Regions from separate parts of the Homo sapiens genome. Here region 2 is linked to region 1. Evidence: promoter capture Hi-C in human tissues and cell types (Jung and others, 2019). All regions are on one chromosome and are shown on one strand. The core of a region is centred on a gene start or on the middle of the fragment in contact, and the rest is flanking DNA. Distances in the headings are between cores, read along the strand shown. Region 1 holds the start of OPN5 (opsin 5). Region 2 has its middle 340 kb from the start of PTCHD4.

Region 1 (7,941 bases), core at 1,960-4,459:
GTAGGTAAACCAGAGGAAGAATTAGGTAAATTAAGTGGATTAATTTCTCCTAGGAGTATTTTAGTAGTGACTGAAGGAGCCAGTTTTATATTCTGAAGGATGTAGACTTTGGATAAAAGCTTGAAGGTCAAGTGGAATTTGGATAGACTGAGAAGAAATGGAACACAAATTACATATGGGGAAAATAAGTGTAAAGTGTGAAGTTGAAAAATGAGTTTGTAATGTATAAAGAAGAGTGGAAAAAAAAAGAATTCCCAAATAACCATGTATTTAGGATTCTCTGCCTCTTTCTCGCAGTGTTCCTCAGGAAGAGTTGTGTCTAAGTTGTGTCTTTGAAAAGAACTAGAAACTCTCAAACACTGTATTTCCAAACTTAAACAATAGCATTAATTTTGATCAGTGTCAGAAAAAAAATAAGTCCACCTATGATATGTCAAAAGCAACTCTTCTGCCAGGCAGGCAAGGCTCTACAGGACAAGATCCCATTTTACCAAGCCAAGATGGCTACCACTTCTCTCCATGATGAACTCTGTTCCCATGGAACAACTCTTTTTCCATCCCTTATACACTTTATGTTCATTTTTTCCTCCAAATCTTAGCTCATGTCATTTTCTTACTGAAAATATTCTCTACTGTTTTCGTTGCTTATTAAAGCCCCTTGGGGGCTCAAGTGAAGTTTTATGTTATCATTTTCATTATTAACATATCGAGTCTTAGGCTGTGCAAGGCCTGGGTACTTCTCGATATAGGAAGGACACTTCTTGATATTACACACACAGTCTAGTTAATTCCTCAGAAAATAGTATTATTTCCTTGCTTTAAAAATTATTGTCTAGGCCAGGTTCAGTGGCTCACACTTGTAATCCCAGGACTTTGGGAGGCTAAAGTGGGAGGAGCCCTTGACCCCAGGACGGGAGTTTGAGATCAGCCTGGGAACCATAGAGAGATACTGTCTCTACAAATAATAATAATAAAAAAAATTAGCTAGGTGTTGTGGCGTGTGCCATGGTCCCAGCTAGTCGGGAGGCTAAGTTGGGAGGATCACCTGAGCCTAGGAGGTCGAGGATGCAGTGAGCACTGATCACATCGCTGCACTCCAGCCTGGGCAACAGAGTGAGACCCTATCTCAAAAAAATTCTCTAAAACCAAGTAAAGCAGCATTTTATTGTTTTATATTCTTGTATTATTATTATATTTTCTGACCATTAGTTGCATCTTTTCTCTGTCCAGAAAATGATAGATACCCTCCCTAAGTCTAGATAACATGGTAAACCTCTGTTGTCCTACCTCATAATGCTGGGTTTGTAGTAGATGTTCAGTGAATACTTGAGTTAACACACAAGCATCCATTGATTCAGCATGGGACCCTGAGGAAATCTCTTATACAATAGCTATATCTTGATGGATAGGCAAGTTTGGGAAAAGTAAGCATCTCAGCATATAATAAATATACAGGACCCCCCATTCATAATATGCTTTCGAGTCCGATATCCTATTGCTCCTACAACAAGCATGAGTGACAGGTAAGAAGGAGACTGCCCATTTTACAGATGAAGTGGTTGCAGTTCAGAAAGTTTAAATGATTTGCTCAAGATCAGAGGGTGGGTATCACAGCTGGACTCCAACCTTCATCTTATGATTCTGAAGCTAAGGTGGAGGACAGGACTGGACAGCCAGTTGGGCGGGGGCAATCTTTGGGGAGGAGAGAGTTTACCAGAACAAGAGGCAGTCAAAGGGGAATCAGGAGTTTGAAAGGTAAAGATAAACTTTCACCTGGGGTAGGTCTTGGGATGTGGTGCATCTGGCAGCCAAAGATTTCTCCTACAGCTTTCTAACCATCTCAGGGAGAAGGATTTGGAATGAACATTAGCACATGACTGTCCTCAAACTGTGTGTAGGAGACTGTAGTTTCAGCCAACTGGCCACTGAAAGGGTCACTAGCCTTCCTCTGTAAGCTGTAAGTTGGCAGTTAGAAAGGGGTTAAATTCATGTCTTTTGCGAAGGTGAATTACATGGTTAGATATGTGCCGATCACCCTGTCACCGCCTGTGGGGCACACAACTCTGTGTTCCACTTGCTGTCTCATATAATGCCCGAAATTGTTGCCTAGAGAGCTGAACAGTGACATCTGTTGGTTCGATTTGAAATAGGCAAGTTCAAAAGAGAAACAGCCACACTAGTATTTCTTCCCCTTTCAAAACAAATAGGAACAATCATGACAAAGGAATGACCCTTCCAAAGGAAGTTTTAACATCAGCAGCATACTTTATCTGAAGAACAACACACGACTCCAAGTTTCAGGATGAGGGATATCATGTGACTTTTATTTTTGCAGAAAGCCCATCAAAGACTTTGTGTAAACCTTTTAAAACTCCAATTCAAAAGAAACAGTACTAAGACCTGTGTATCTGAGAAATTCCTCAATGCTCAAGATTTCATCCAGAAGCATAAATGAGCAAATAGAAAGTATGGATTTGGGGCAGTGGTGAGAAATAATGAAATTGCTTTCTGCTCTAGGAAACTTGAGAAACAAACCTTCCTGTGGATGTGCCTGTGAGTTACAACCCAGCTTGAATCCTTTCTAAATAGCTCCAAATTTCAAGATCACTTTGACAATCACCTAGCTCTTAGCTTCAATTAATTAAGTGTCCATGTTCCTTTGTACTGAATGCTCTATTTCTTTCCTTACAAAACTCTAAACCTCATTGAATGTACAATGGAAATGATTTTCTGGGAAATCTGGATAATCAAAAAATACTATATTCTGACAAGTTATATATATACATATGTAAATTTTTTATATATTATATATAATTTATATACATAAATTATATATATATAGTGTGTGTGTGTGTATGTGTGCACACTCCATACAATATCATTTCCTGCTCAGACCTTTACAAAAATTGCTAAGAAACAGTAAATTGCACAGTTTGGCCTTCAACCTTTTAATCACCCCAAGGAGAAAAGAAGTGGCTCAAAGAGTAGCATGAGAAAACAGAGGAGAAAATGAAGGCTTGGATAATCTGCCAACCGAATAACTGAGTAATGACATAATTGGATCATTGAAAAAAATGTTAAAATTTTTACCAGTTATTAATTAGAGAATCATGCATGACCCTGGGAACTTGCTTTTTGTTTTAAAACAGGAGCCACGATTATGAAATGGTTCAAGCTGGCTTATTCAGGTCTGCTGAGATCTCTACTGGTTTGCTTTTCAGATCCCTCGTGGTTCGAGAACAGAATGGCGTTAAATCACACTGCCCTGCCTCAGGACGAGCGCCTGCCCCATTACCTTCGAGATGGGGATCCTTTTGCTTCCAAACTTTCTTGGGAAGCGGATTTAGTGGCTGGCTTTTACCTAACAATAATTGGTAAGCTTCCTTAATTCTTCTGTGCAAAGGCTGCATTTAGAAAATTCATGGGCTGATATGTTAATTTTGTGAAAGGATTCTGATACTTAAGTGGATAGTTTAGTGGAGGCGAAGAGTGGGGAAAGGCAGAAGATGGAATGGCATTATGGCATTCAATAAATGTTTCCTAGAAATGACTCTTTATTATCATTATTATTAGGAATAAAATTCCATTGATAATCCAAGAACTCTTACAGCAAAATTATTTATCCATTTCATTTTGGTTACTTTGGGAGTAGATTTACTTTCTGAATACCAAAATTAATGATAATGATATTTTATTTAAACAGAGTGCTTTTTAAATAATGTTTTTGACATAATCATAAGTTTTAGGTTGAGAATGGGCCTTAAAAATAATCTAGGTCAGTCTCCTGTTCTCACAACTGTGCAAAACTCAATTGTGCTATTGTGCTATAGTACTATAGTAATGGCAGAAACACTGAGTTTACTTCACCTAAAAGTAAAGTCGCATCAAAATAGCTAAGCCATTTTGGTGACAGTTGAAAAATGTGTTGGTGATAAATGGAAGAAAGTCCGGGGTCAAAAGATTTTTGTGCATAATTGACGAAAGGGTGCACCTGCTTCTAGACTGCATGATCTCATTCATTCAGTAGCCACATGTGGCTTTTCCAAATTGAAAGTTGCTGTAGTGTAAATACTCACCAGATACTGAAGGCTCAGTACAACAAAAAGTGGTATAAAATATCTCATTAATAATTTTTAAAAATTAAATACATGTTGAACATACAACATTTTAGGTATGTTAAGCTAAATAAAATATATTATTAAAATTAATTTACTGTAAATTTTAAATTTATAAATTAAATTTTTACTTTGTAAATTTTTACTTTGTTTAATGTGGCTACCAGAAAATTTTAGAATCCATATGTGGCTCGCATTTCTGGCTTACATTACATTTATACTGGATAGCACTAATCTAGACAGTTAGGATTTAATTTAACCACCTATTTAAATTTAAGAAAAGAAACCATACTTTTCTTAAATTTAAAATTGTTGTTTTAACTTTGGGTGACCAGTGTGAAGGTGGGTTATGTCTTTAGGTTTGTTTGCCTTTAATTTTTTCAGATGTTGGGTCAAACTTGCTCTCTCTCTCTTTTCTCTTTGTTTCTATCTTTCTCTTCCACCCTTCTTCCCTTCCTCCCTTTCTCTCTTTTTCTCCCTCTCTCATCTATTTATTACTGGCTAAGAATTTCATTTAACCTCCTGAAAGTAGCAAAACTCATTAGAAAATACTTGATATCCCTCTATGGTCAGTACTTGAGGCAAAAGGAACTCATGTGATTCAACCAAATTCTGCTGTAAAGTGATTCCCTGGGTCTTTGTCTTTATTGTTGTTAGTGTTTTACTAGTTTAAATTCTGTTTCTTATAAATGAGTCCCCATCTCTTTTCAACATAAATATATATTGAGCGCCCACTCTTTGCCACTGTTTTAAGTTGCTGGGAATAGAGCAGAGAATAAAATGGGCAAACATTCTGCTGGAACAGAAACTGTCTTATCTCTGTAAAATCCACATTGCATTTTTATTAAACTTAAGTACTTTCAATTAACAGAAAAGGCAGAAAAATAAGCAACTTGATCAATTGTATTTAGCATAGCTCCATCACTTTCAAGGAATGAATTAAAAAAGTAACATCAATAACCTGACAAATCTCTCCAGACAACACAAAACAGAGAGGCCTATCAGTCCATTCCCAATCTTAAGCAGGGAGGATTGCAGGAGGATTGCAACCAGGGTGAGGAAATCAGGAGAATTTCCCACCTGATACACATGGAGTTGGAAGGAAAGTCCACAATCATATTCCAGTGGGTTTGCTGAGATGGAGCCAGAAAAACAGGTTGAAAAAGAGTCCCTGGACAGGGGGAGCTTCAGGAGGATCAGGGCACTAGGAGGTGGAGCCAATGGTATGTTAGAGAACAGTCACGCAGGGTGAGGAGAGGGGTCGACTGGAGGGGTTTGGACTCACCCTAGATCCACTTCTTGGACTTGGCCGTGTGTCTGGTTTTCACTCTCCTAGAATAGGCTAGTGTAGATGTTGCAAGATTCCTTTTTTTTTTGGACATAGAGTCTCACTCTGTCACCCAGGTTGGAGTGCAGTGGTGCGATCTCGGCTCACTGCAACCTCCATCTCCCAAGTTCAAGCAATTCTTGTGCCTCAACCTCCTGAGTAGCTGGGGCTACAGGTGTGCACCACCATGCTTGGCTAATTTTTGTGTTTTTTAGTAGAGACGGGGTTTCGCCATGTTGGCCAGGCTGGTATTGAACTCCTGGCCTCAAGTGATTTGCCCACCTCAGCCTCCCAAAGTGTTGGGATTACAGGCGTGAGCCACCGCGCCTGGCCAAGATGTGTGTGTCCAGATTGCTTTTAAGGAGCCAGAGTGGAATAAACATTCTTGGTGGGCTTTGTTAAATACTAGAAGTCTTAAGAGACAATGGAAAGATAACAATATAAATCTGAGTTTGAAATACAGGAGACATAAATTACAAACCCATTTTCTACCTTCCACACTTTTACTATTATTGTAAATACTGAGTTTATTAACAGTTAATATATATGATATTTTTGTATCCATAAATGATATAGGATTTGATAATCTAAAAGTGTCCCCACTTTGGTCTTTATCTTCTTAATCTGGTTGTCTTTTCAGTAATATTAAGAATAAATTTGCTTTTTCCTGACACTCATCTATAACATATATATATTGCTTGTTAGAATAATTTACATGCAATGAATAGAGAGGTGACTATTTTTTGATAATGCTTTGGGCACTGGGTGAAACCTTATGAAGCAGGGTCAGTAAAGAAAATTTAAGGAAGGAAAAGTAAGAAAACAAATATTTTCAAAAGAGATGTAGACAGATGAAAGGTGTTTCAATGAGCCTTGTGTATCAAACGAAAATGGATACTTGTTTTTACTCTTTTTGGATACAAAGTAGGTGGCATTAAGTTTATACTTTTTCAAGCCACGTTTTCACATTTTGCTTTCCTAGCTGGTTTCCTTGAGTGAGACCTGTTTCATTTTAGTTGGTTTGCTCTGGAACTCCGTAATCTCTTTTATTTTTCTCTTCTTCTGCTTTATGAAAGCTAAAGAGGTTTTAATGGACCATTAAGCAGCACTGACTCCAGGGAGTCAGAATTTCCTAAGAGCACAATGCAGTTAGTTCCTGGTGGTTTCATACCATCAGCTGAATCACACATTTCTTTCTTTGCCCCCAAAATGAATTGTGGTGGAGAAGTAGAAATTAAAATAGAAAACTCTGGGTTTCTCCTGTTAATACTCTCCTTATTCCTTACTACTAAAGGCAGCTGTACCAGATTCTCATTTATACACAGCTACACTATGAAGCAAGAATTCCTGAAGAAATCTACTCTACATGTTAAGCTATGGAAGTAGGTGTATTCTTTTCTTAAATAAAGTCAGTAGGGATTGGGTCTTTTTGGATTTAAACTGGGTTTGTAAGAACTTTCGAACAGTTTCATTGTAATGCCAAAGGCAACTAGTCATTAATAAAAGGATATGAAAAAGTGGGAACACACTTATGGCATTGTTGGTAGGTTCGGTGGGTTGAGGGTCACTTTCTCTCCCCTTGGTGGGAGGGACAGTGCCCAGGTTCTCGATTGTCACCCACTTACCCTTGATATCTAGTCCAGTAGCAGCTGAAGGCTGTCCTATCTGCCAGACACTCAGTGTCCATGTCTCCCAAAGAGGCGGAAGTCCTGGGGCGTCTCTGGGAGATGTCCATTTTCTTGAAGGGAGTTATGCCAGTCATACCTGGCCTCTGCCTCTCCTGAACACTGGTGCTCCCTTAGGAGTTGACAGTGATACTGAAGGCACCTTCTTTGGTTGGCTTCATCTTCAGAATTTATCAAGAGCTAAGGGTTTAACCCTACTGATCAGAGGGAGGGAGTTCTATAAAGCCAATAATCTATAAAAATGGCTGAGGAAAGTACTCCACTCTGGGGGCCAGGACAAGAACTGACCATTGGGATTCCCACACTTTCCTGAGCCTCGCGGGGAAGTTAGCGATGCCTTTTTCTGGGTAAGTTCAGTCTTATAATCCCTGACTCCTGCCCCATTGGCCTGTCACTCACAACTCATGCTTTTTATTTCATCTTCTTAATTTAGATTTTTTTATTTAGAGTCCTCTCACTACCCTCTAAATCTATGGTGTCCATTTTTGAAGTTGAGAAGTGTTTCATATCTGAGTGAACTCGAAATCTTAGTTTTAACGATTGGAATTTTTATTTTTCCTTGTAGGGATTCTGTCCACATTTGGAAATGGATATGTCCTTTACATGTCTTCTAGACGAAAGAAGAAGCTGAGACCCGCTGAAATAATGACTATCAATTTAGCAGTCTGTGATCTGGGGATTTCAGGTAACACAACCATGCTGTGTTTTCTTTGTGGGTTTAAACTACTCCCCATTCTAAAGTACTCACTGTCTCAAACGTCACCCCCTGACATCTCTTCCCTTCACATCTCCTTCCACTCTTCGCTTCACAAAT
Region 2 (7,941 bases), core at 3,249-5,748, 670 kb after region 1:
ACCATACTGCCAAAAAACAAGCTACAAATTCAATGCAATTCCCATCAAAATACCACCATCATTCTTCACACACTAAAAAGACAATCCTAAAATTTATATGGAACAAAAAAAGAGCCCAAATAGCCAAAGCAAGACTAAGCAAAAAGAACAAATCTGGAAGAATCACATTACCTGACTTCAAACTATACTACAAGGCCATAGTCATCATAACAATATGGAACTGGTATAGAAATAGACACATAGACCAATGCAACACAACAGAGAATCCAGAAAGAACCCCAAATACTTACAACAACTGATCTTCAACAAAGCAAACAAAAACATAAAGTGAGGAAAGGACACTCTACTCAACAAATGGTGCTGGGATAATTGACAAGCCACATATAGGAGAATGAAACTGGATCTTCATCTTTTACCTTATACAAAAATCAACCCAAGATGGATAAAAGACTTAAATCTAAAACCTGAAACTATGTAATTCTAAAAGATAACTTTGGAAGAATCCTTCTAGACATTGGCTTAGGCAAAGACTTCATGACCAAGAACCCAAAAGCAAATGCAACAAAAACAAAGATAAATAGATGGGACTTAATTAAACTAATGAGCTTCTGTGCAGCAAAAGAAACAGTCAGAATAGTAAACAGAAAACCCATAGCGTGGGAGAAAATCTTCACAATCTACACATCTGACAAAGGGCTAATATCCAGAATCTACAACTAGCTCAAACAAATTAGCAAGAAAGAAAGAAACAATCCCATCAAAAAGTGGGCTAAGGATGTGAATAGACAATTCTCAAAAGAAGATATACAAATGGCCAACAAATATATGAGAAAATGCTCAATATCACTAATGATCAGGGAAATGAGAATCAAAATCACAATATGATACTACCTTACTGCCAAGACCAGCTCGGTCGGGGAGACTCTAACCCAGCAGCGCTAGAGGAATTAAAGACACACACACAGAAATATAGAGGTGTGAAGTGGGAAATCAGGTGTCTCACAGCCTTCGGAGCTGAGAGCCTCAAACAGATTTACTCATGTATTTATTAACCACAAGCCAGTCATAGCATTGTTTCTATAGATATTAGATTAACTAAAAGTATCCCTTATGGGAAACAAAGGGAAGGGCTGAAATAAAAGGATGACTTGGGTTAGTTATCTGTAGCAGGAGCATGTCCTTAAGTCACAGATCGCTCATGCTACTGTTTGTGGTTTAAGAATGCCTTTAAGTGGTTTTCGGCCCTGGGTGGGCCAGGTATTCCTTGCCCTCATTCCAGTAAAGCCACAACCTTCCAGCGTGAGCATTATGGCCATCATGAACATGTCACAGTGCTGCAGAGATTTTGTTTATGGCCAGTTTTGGGGCCAGTTTATGGCCAGATTTTGGGGGGGCCTGTTCCCAATACCTTACTCTTGCAAAAATGGCCATAATAAAAAAAAATTAAAAACAGTAGATGTTGGTGTGGTTGTGGTGAAAAGGGAACACTTCTACACTGCTGGTGGGAATGTAAACTAGTACAAAGACTATGGAAAACAGTGTGGAGAGTCCTTAAAGAACTAAAAGTAGAACTACCATTTGATCCAGCAATTCCACTACTGGGTATTTACTCAAATAAAAATAAGTTATTATATGAAAAAGATAAACACACATGCATATTTATAGCAGCACAATTTGCAGTTGCAAAAATATGGAACCGAACTAAGTGCCCAGCAATCAATGAGTGAATAAAGAAAAAAAGTGTGTGTGTGTATATATATATATATATATATATATATATATGCACCATGGAATATTACTCAGCAATAAAAAGGAACTAATTAATGGCATTTGCAACAACCTGGATGCAACTGGAGACTATTATTCTAAGTGAAGTAACTCAGGAATGGAAAATCAATCATCATATGTTCTCATTCATAAGAGGGAGCTAAGCTTTGAGGTTGCAAAGGCATAAGAACGATACATGGATTTTGGTGACTTAGGCAAAAGGGTGGGAGGGGTGTGAGGGAAAAAAGACTACAAATGGGGTTCGTTGTATACTGCTGGGGTGATGGGTGTACCAAAATCCCACAAATCACCACTAAAGAACTTATTCATGTAATCAAATACCACCAGTTTCCCCAAAACCCATGGAAATAAAGAATTTAAAAATAATATTTAAAATTTTTTGTGGGTACATAGTAGGTGTATATATTTTTGGCATACATAAGATGTTTTGATACAAGCATGCATGGAAAATAAGCACATCCTGGAGAATGGGGGATCCATCCTCTCAAGCATTTTCCTTTGAGTTACAAAGAATCTAATTATATTCTTTAAGTTATTTTAAAATATACAATTAAGTCATTATTGACTATAGGCACCCTATTGTGTTATCAAATAGTAGGTATTACTCATTCTTTCTAAGTTTTTATACCCATTAACCATCCCCACTTCCCCTCCAATTCCCCACTACCCTTCCCAGCCTCTTAAAACCATCCTTCTAGTCTCTGTGTCCATGAGTTCAATTCATTTGATTTTTAGATCTCCAAAATAAGTGATAACATGTGAGTTTATCTTTCTGTGCCTGGATTATTTCACTTAATATAATGATCATCAGTTCCATCCATGTTGTTGCAAAGGGCTGGATTTCATTTTTGGGGCGGGGGCTAGAGTTACTGATTTAGGAATGCAGCAACAAAAGAGTACACCAATCCACATTTTATAATCCCCTAAGCTGTAGATTTAGTTGTGCACACAGACCTAAGTCTTTTTGTTCAGGGTGGACTGTTCATAGATTGCTGGAAATCCTGGGAACAGACTGTCAATCCCTTTCTCACTGCCGATGAACCAGGAAACTTGTAGTCCTGGAGATTTCTGACTATTATCTTTGCCTACTCAGGGTAACCACCACTAGGATAAGGCAAAATTGATGGGGAAAATGAGGAAATGGATAGAAACAACCAGGGTTTTTGGTAATATCACTGAGCTACAAGATTGTACTTGTCTGAAGCCTTACCTCAGGACATACACTTACATGGACATATAACTTGCCATCGTTGTTAGACAGTTTAAATAAACTAATCTGTTATTTGCATCTAATGCAATTGAACTGATAGAAAACTGAAGTTATTTTTTCAATTTTGGCAAATAGCTATTTTATCTGATTAAAATACGAATGTATTGCTCACCTGAAAAATAAAATAGGTAGTATGAACATATGTAAACAGGATTCCTATCAGATTGCCTCAGGCACAGTTCATATAAGCTTGGCAGTATTGTTGGGGACACCAAATACTCATCAATTGAAAAGCTACCAAATAGTGAATTTTGACCGAAACACGATTTAAAAAAAGATGGGGAAGAGTGCTTTTGAAGGGGCAATGCTGCAAAGTGAAGATATATGTCATAAGATACACGAAGCTCTAATTATATAACAGATTTATGCTTCCAAAGCCATAACGTCCAACAGAACCACTTAGGAAATGGGCAACAAGATGAAACAAATGGACTGCTGAACTTTGAGGTGCAGTAAACTTTTTCCCATTCACCTGGAGCATTCTCATCCAACTGGAATTAGAACTGGCTGCAAGATAAATCATCTAAAATCTAGAGCTCTGAGTAGTGAAGAGATAAACATAAGATTAACTGTTCCATCTAAACTCATTTCTCATCACAAGGCTCAAATAAATCCCAGCGTTTGTTGTATATCAAAGTCACACTGCCATAAGGAAACCATCAGAATTTATTCTGAGGATTCTTTGTCATCTCATAAAAAATGGGTTACTAACAAGGCAGTTATCGATAGCATTTATGAAATAGACTTTTATATGCACAGTATCCTTACATATTTTTTGCATAAATTAATATAGATAGATACATTTAGTACTAAACAGAATGAGTAGATTTTCTTCGTAATTATTAATTGCATCAATTGGTTAAAAATTCATTGCAAATTATTAAAAAATTATAGCTGATGATGATGCTTTGGAGATAATAAAATATAGAGATACAGTATAAGATAAAGAAAAGCATCATAAGAATTGACCCACTGAGAAATGTATCCAAAGTTGAAGTGATCAAGATGATCAGTTGTTTCCTTTGTGGGTCTTCCTTGACCCACTGGGGATGGCTAAATTTCTTCCTTTCCTGATGGTAACTTCTCTCTTCCATAAATCGCTCTTGAAAATGTCCTGAGAAGCAAGTAGGCAAAGGCATATAAACATACATGTGAGGTGTGCTAAGCAGTGATGGAAAAAAACCCAAAACCTCCCTAGTTCCCTATAATTGTAGTTATCTTATGTAAATAGAAATGATGCATTTATGACATTTCATTCCTTTACTACACTACATTTTCCACCACACATTGAGTGTATATTCACACTAATCAGTAGATCTTATTTTGAAAATGTAATTTGAAAAATGTCAAATTCCTAGAATCTTCCCCATACTGTTAATAGATAAAAGTACTCATATGATTTTATATGGAATAAAAAATTTGGGGAATGAGACAGTATGAGACAGCAAAAGAAATCATACAACACTTTTACTCAGGTTACATTAGGGAGTCCATACTATGGTACCAGAAATAGCTGTAGGAAAGCATTCATTGATATAACAAACAAGTATTTAATTTTTATTATGTACCAGGTACTATTCTAGATGATGGGGATGAAACACTAATTAATATGTGATCGTTGACTTTGAAAAGCTTATAGTATAATATAATAATACAAGCAACTACTAAAGTGAAATAGAAACCAAGATAGATGATCCCAAGAATGCTTTACTGGCAATGAAAGTATGCGTTGGAAAGATGGCCCCAAACTGAGTCTTAAAGGTCAAATAGGCATTTGCCAACAGCATGGAGTTGGATGAGAGTCAGAGGTGTGGAAAGGTCATTCTAAGAGGAACAAGTACTTGGAGAAGCCACATCTAGTTAAAAGCCAAGAAGATACTATGTATGCACTCAGGTGACATTGGCAGTGTTTCTCATAGAGCTGGGAAATAAGAACCCAGCTGCATACCTGTATCTTAGTTGACAACACTGTATTCGATTGAGAGATCATGAATTTTAGTTAATTATTTCTGCCACTGAGTTACTAGTTTCTAGGTGGTAGCTGTTGACATACAAATGCAAGAAATAATTGAGAGAACATGCAATGTGAATATTGATGAGAGTCAAAGGGGAAGCACCAACAGTCAAAAACAGTGGTGAAGCAGAGGCCAGAGAAGGAAACTTCAAGAGGAAGAGAGCGATAAGGTGTGAAATGCTGCAGATAAGTCACATAAAATAGGGTGAAAAAAAGCATTTGGTAATTAGGAAATCACTAAAGTGGTACCTGAGTGTAGTATCTTGAAGAGTATATGGAAGACAGTTAAACGCAGCAATTGAGGAAATTTCTCTCTTGAAACTTGTATTTTACAGAAAAGAGAAATATAAATTTGTAGATAGAGCCAATATAGGATTATTTTTATTATTATTATTTTGCTTGCCCTTCCCCTCTTCATTCTTATATGGAAAATAATTGAGCACTGACAGGCAGCCGTGAGAATGAAAAGATGAAAAATTTAAAAAGATTTGAAATCAGATGATATGGAATAGTATTTGGGCTCTGCCTAGTTAGTTGCCCACCTTGCACAAATCAGTAACTATCTGAGTTTCGGTGTTTGCTTGAGAAAATAGGAACAGTAATATATGTCCTACCTTATTCATATGAATATTTAGATGATTACATATAATAATATATGTGAAAGTAGGTTATAGGTCAAATTCATGATTAGCTTTCACTCAAATTAGACCTCTGTAAAATAAAAAGTAAATAATAGATACGTTGATTATCAGACTAAAATAAAAATACATTTAGATAAAATAATTAAGTTGGAGAGTGAATGTTAACTTGTTTAACTGTAATTTGTGACTCCACCAAATTGTAATTTTTGATCCACTTCCTATTTGAAATAGTTTTATATTTCACAGGGTAGGCTGTATATAAGTGCTAGAAATTCAAATTCATCTTTCAGCTGCTAAGTATGATAAAAGAATGTTCCAATAAACTTAATTCTCTATTTTGGCAAAGACTAAAACTGCAAATACGCACAATGCAAATTTAATCTATTCTGTTTATAGTCTCACTGTCACTTCAAGGTCCTATTGGGATGCCATATGGGCTGGTTTATTGCTTAGATGAAGTTTACAAATATAAACAAATAAATAATTTTGGGGATTTCTACAGAGTCAAATTAAGTTGGATGCAATGTCAAATAAACAGCACATATATCATAACTTCACAAAGGAATAGAATTTATTATATTTCAGGAAACGAATTCCCAAATTATATTTTACTGGATATACAAAAATGCTTGCTTGCATCTAATGTATTTCAAATCTGCCACTTATTTAAAGAGTCATGCTTTTTACCACAGTAAATAATACAATTTAAAATGTATTCATATCCCAATGAGTCTGCCTGTTTTCTAATATGTTAACAGATCTTATTTATCCAATTGAATGTTCACTAACAAATTTAGTCTAGCTGCATTTTTTCTTCTTTCCTAAAGTAAAATTCTGAGATGGAGAACAAAGTGATTGTTGACAGAACTAACGTTCAGCTTCTTTAATGGTAAGATATTTAAGAGAAGTCAGCTAATGCTTTAAAATAAATATTAAATTTGTGCACAGGAAAAAAAAATGGTTGGAAACCAACTGATGTGGAATAATGCTTAAAAATGTTTGCTCATCCTAATATCTTTAAAAAAGCCAATGAACAAACACAAATCAACAAGTCATATAAATACAGAAATTTTTTATTAAATCGAGAATGTAATTCAGGAAAACTATATAATGTTTGGTGGATATCATATTAAAGCATAGATATCTGAACTGTGAATAATTTTAATAGTGAATTCATCTCTATACTTCATCCATTAAGTGTTACTAAAGGACAAATGTGTGTAAGGATCTTCTGATTGACTTTTATTTATTTACATATTTTTATATCATAAAATACCAGTTTTATTAAGAAATATTTTCTTTTTCTATATCAGAGAATTACTCTACATGATGAACATCAGTCATTATGTCATTATCATCAACATTATCATGAAGAATTATTATAAAGTATTTCCAGGAAATCTTTCAATGTACAGTGTACTTTTTGAAATACTGCTGCATTGACTTAGCAAAAATTCTGAAATTGAGGGAGAAATCATATCTTTTTTGTAACTTTTAAGTTCAGGGGTACATATGCAGGTTTGGTATATAGGTAAATTTGTGTCATGGAGTTTTGTTTACAGATTATTTTGTCACCCAGGTATTAAGCCTGGTAACCATTAGTAATTTTTCCTGATCCTCTCCCTCCTTCCACCCTCCACCCTCCAGTAGACCCCAGTGTCTGTTGTTCCCCTCTATGTGCCCATATGTTCTCATCATTTAACTACTACTTATAAGTGAGAACAGGCAGTACTTGGTTTTCTGTTCCTGCGTTAGTCATATCTTCTTCTAAAGATTGGAAAGTTGGAAGTGAGAGAGGTAAAGTTATATAGCTTTAAGTCACAAAGTCAGAAGCCATAATTTAGTTTTCGATTCTTAGATGTTGCATTCTTCTGTAGACCACAATTTGTAGTTTACATTTGCTAACAGTTTATAGCTAACAAAATACTTTCTCAAGTGTTATCTCAGTGAGCTCTTTGTATTGAGCTACTAAATAAGCATCAATATATACATTTTGCAATTGAATGTTCTAACATTGAGAGGAATTGAATGTCCTGTTCAATCTAACACAACTTGTTTGTGCAAATGTCTGTATTGAAACAAAATATATCTAATCTTTTAACTTTGTAATCAATTCAGGTTATACATTGTGTCATATGTTTAACTAGTATGTATAATTAGTATATGTTTCATATATTACTAATTATTTTATTTTCAATTAGCTGGGCTATGATCGCAGAGATTTCTCA

The links. Contacts are between HindIII fragments. The study calls those that stand out against the background at their distance.
Region 2: a fragment that was not itself captured here is called in contact with the fragment with the promoter of OPN5 in region 1 in 1 of the 25 tissues and cell types used here (dorsolateral prefrontal cortex).

The regions. Positions count from the first base shown.
Region 1 is chr6:47,778,823-47,786,763 of GRCh38, forward strand. It overlaps OPN5 (opsin 5), which reads left to right and starts at 3,210. Exons shown (of 7, transcript NM_181744.4): 1 at 3,210-3,374; 2 at 7,693-7,812. The coding sequence starts at 3,245. The HindIII fragment of the contact is 6,027 bases long and covers 1-5,768 here.
Region 2 is chr6:48,452,059-48,459,999 of GRCh38, forward strand. No RefSeq gene overlaps it. Among named protein-coding and RNA genes, the nearest start is that of PTCHD4, 340 kb to the left of the region's middle. The HindIII fragment of the contact is 3,819 bases long and covers 2,590-6,408 here.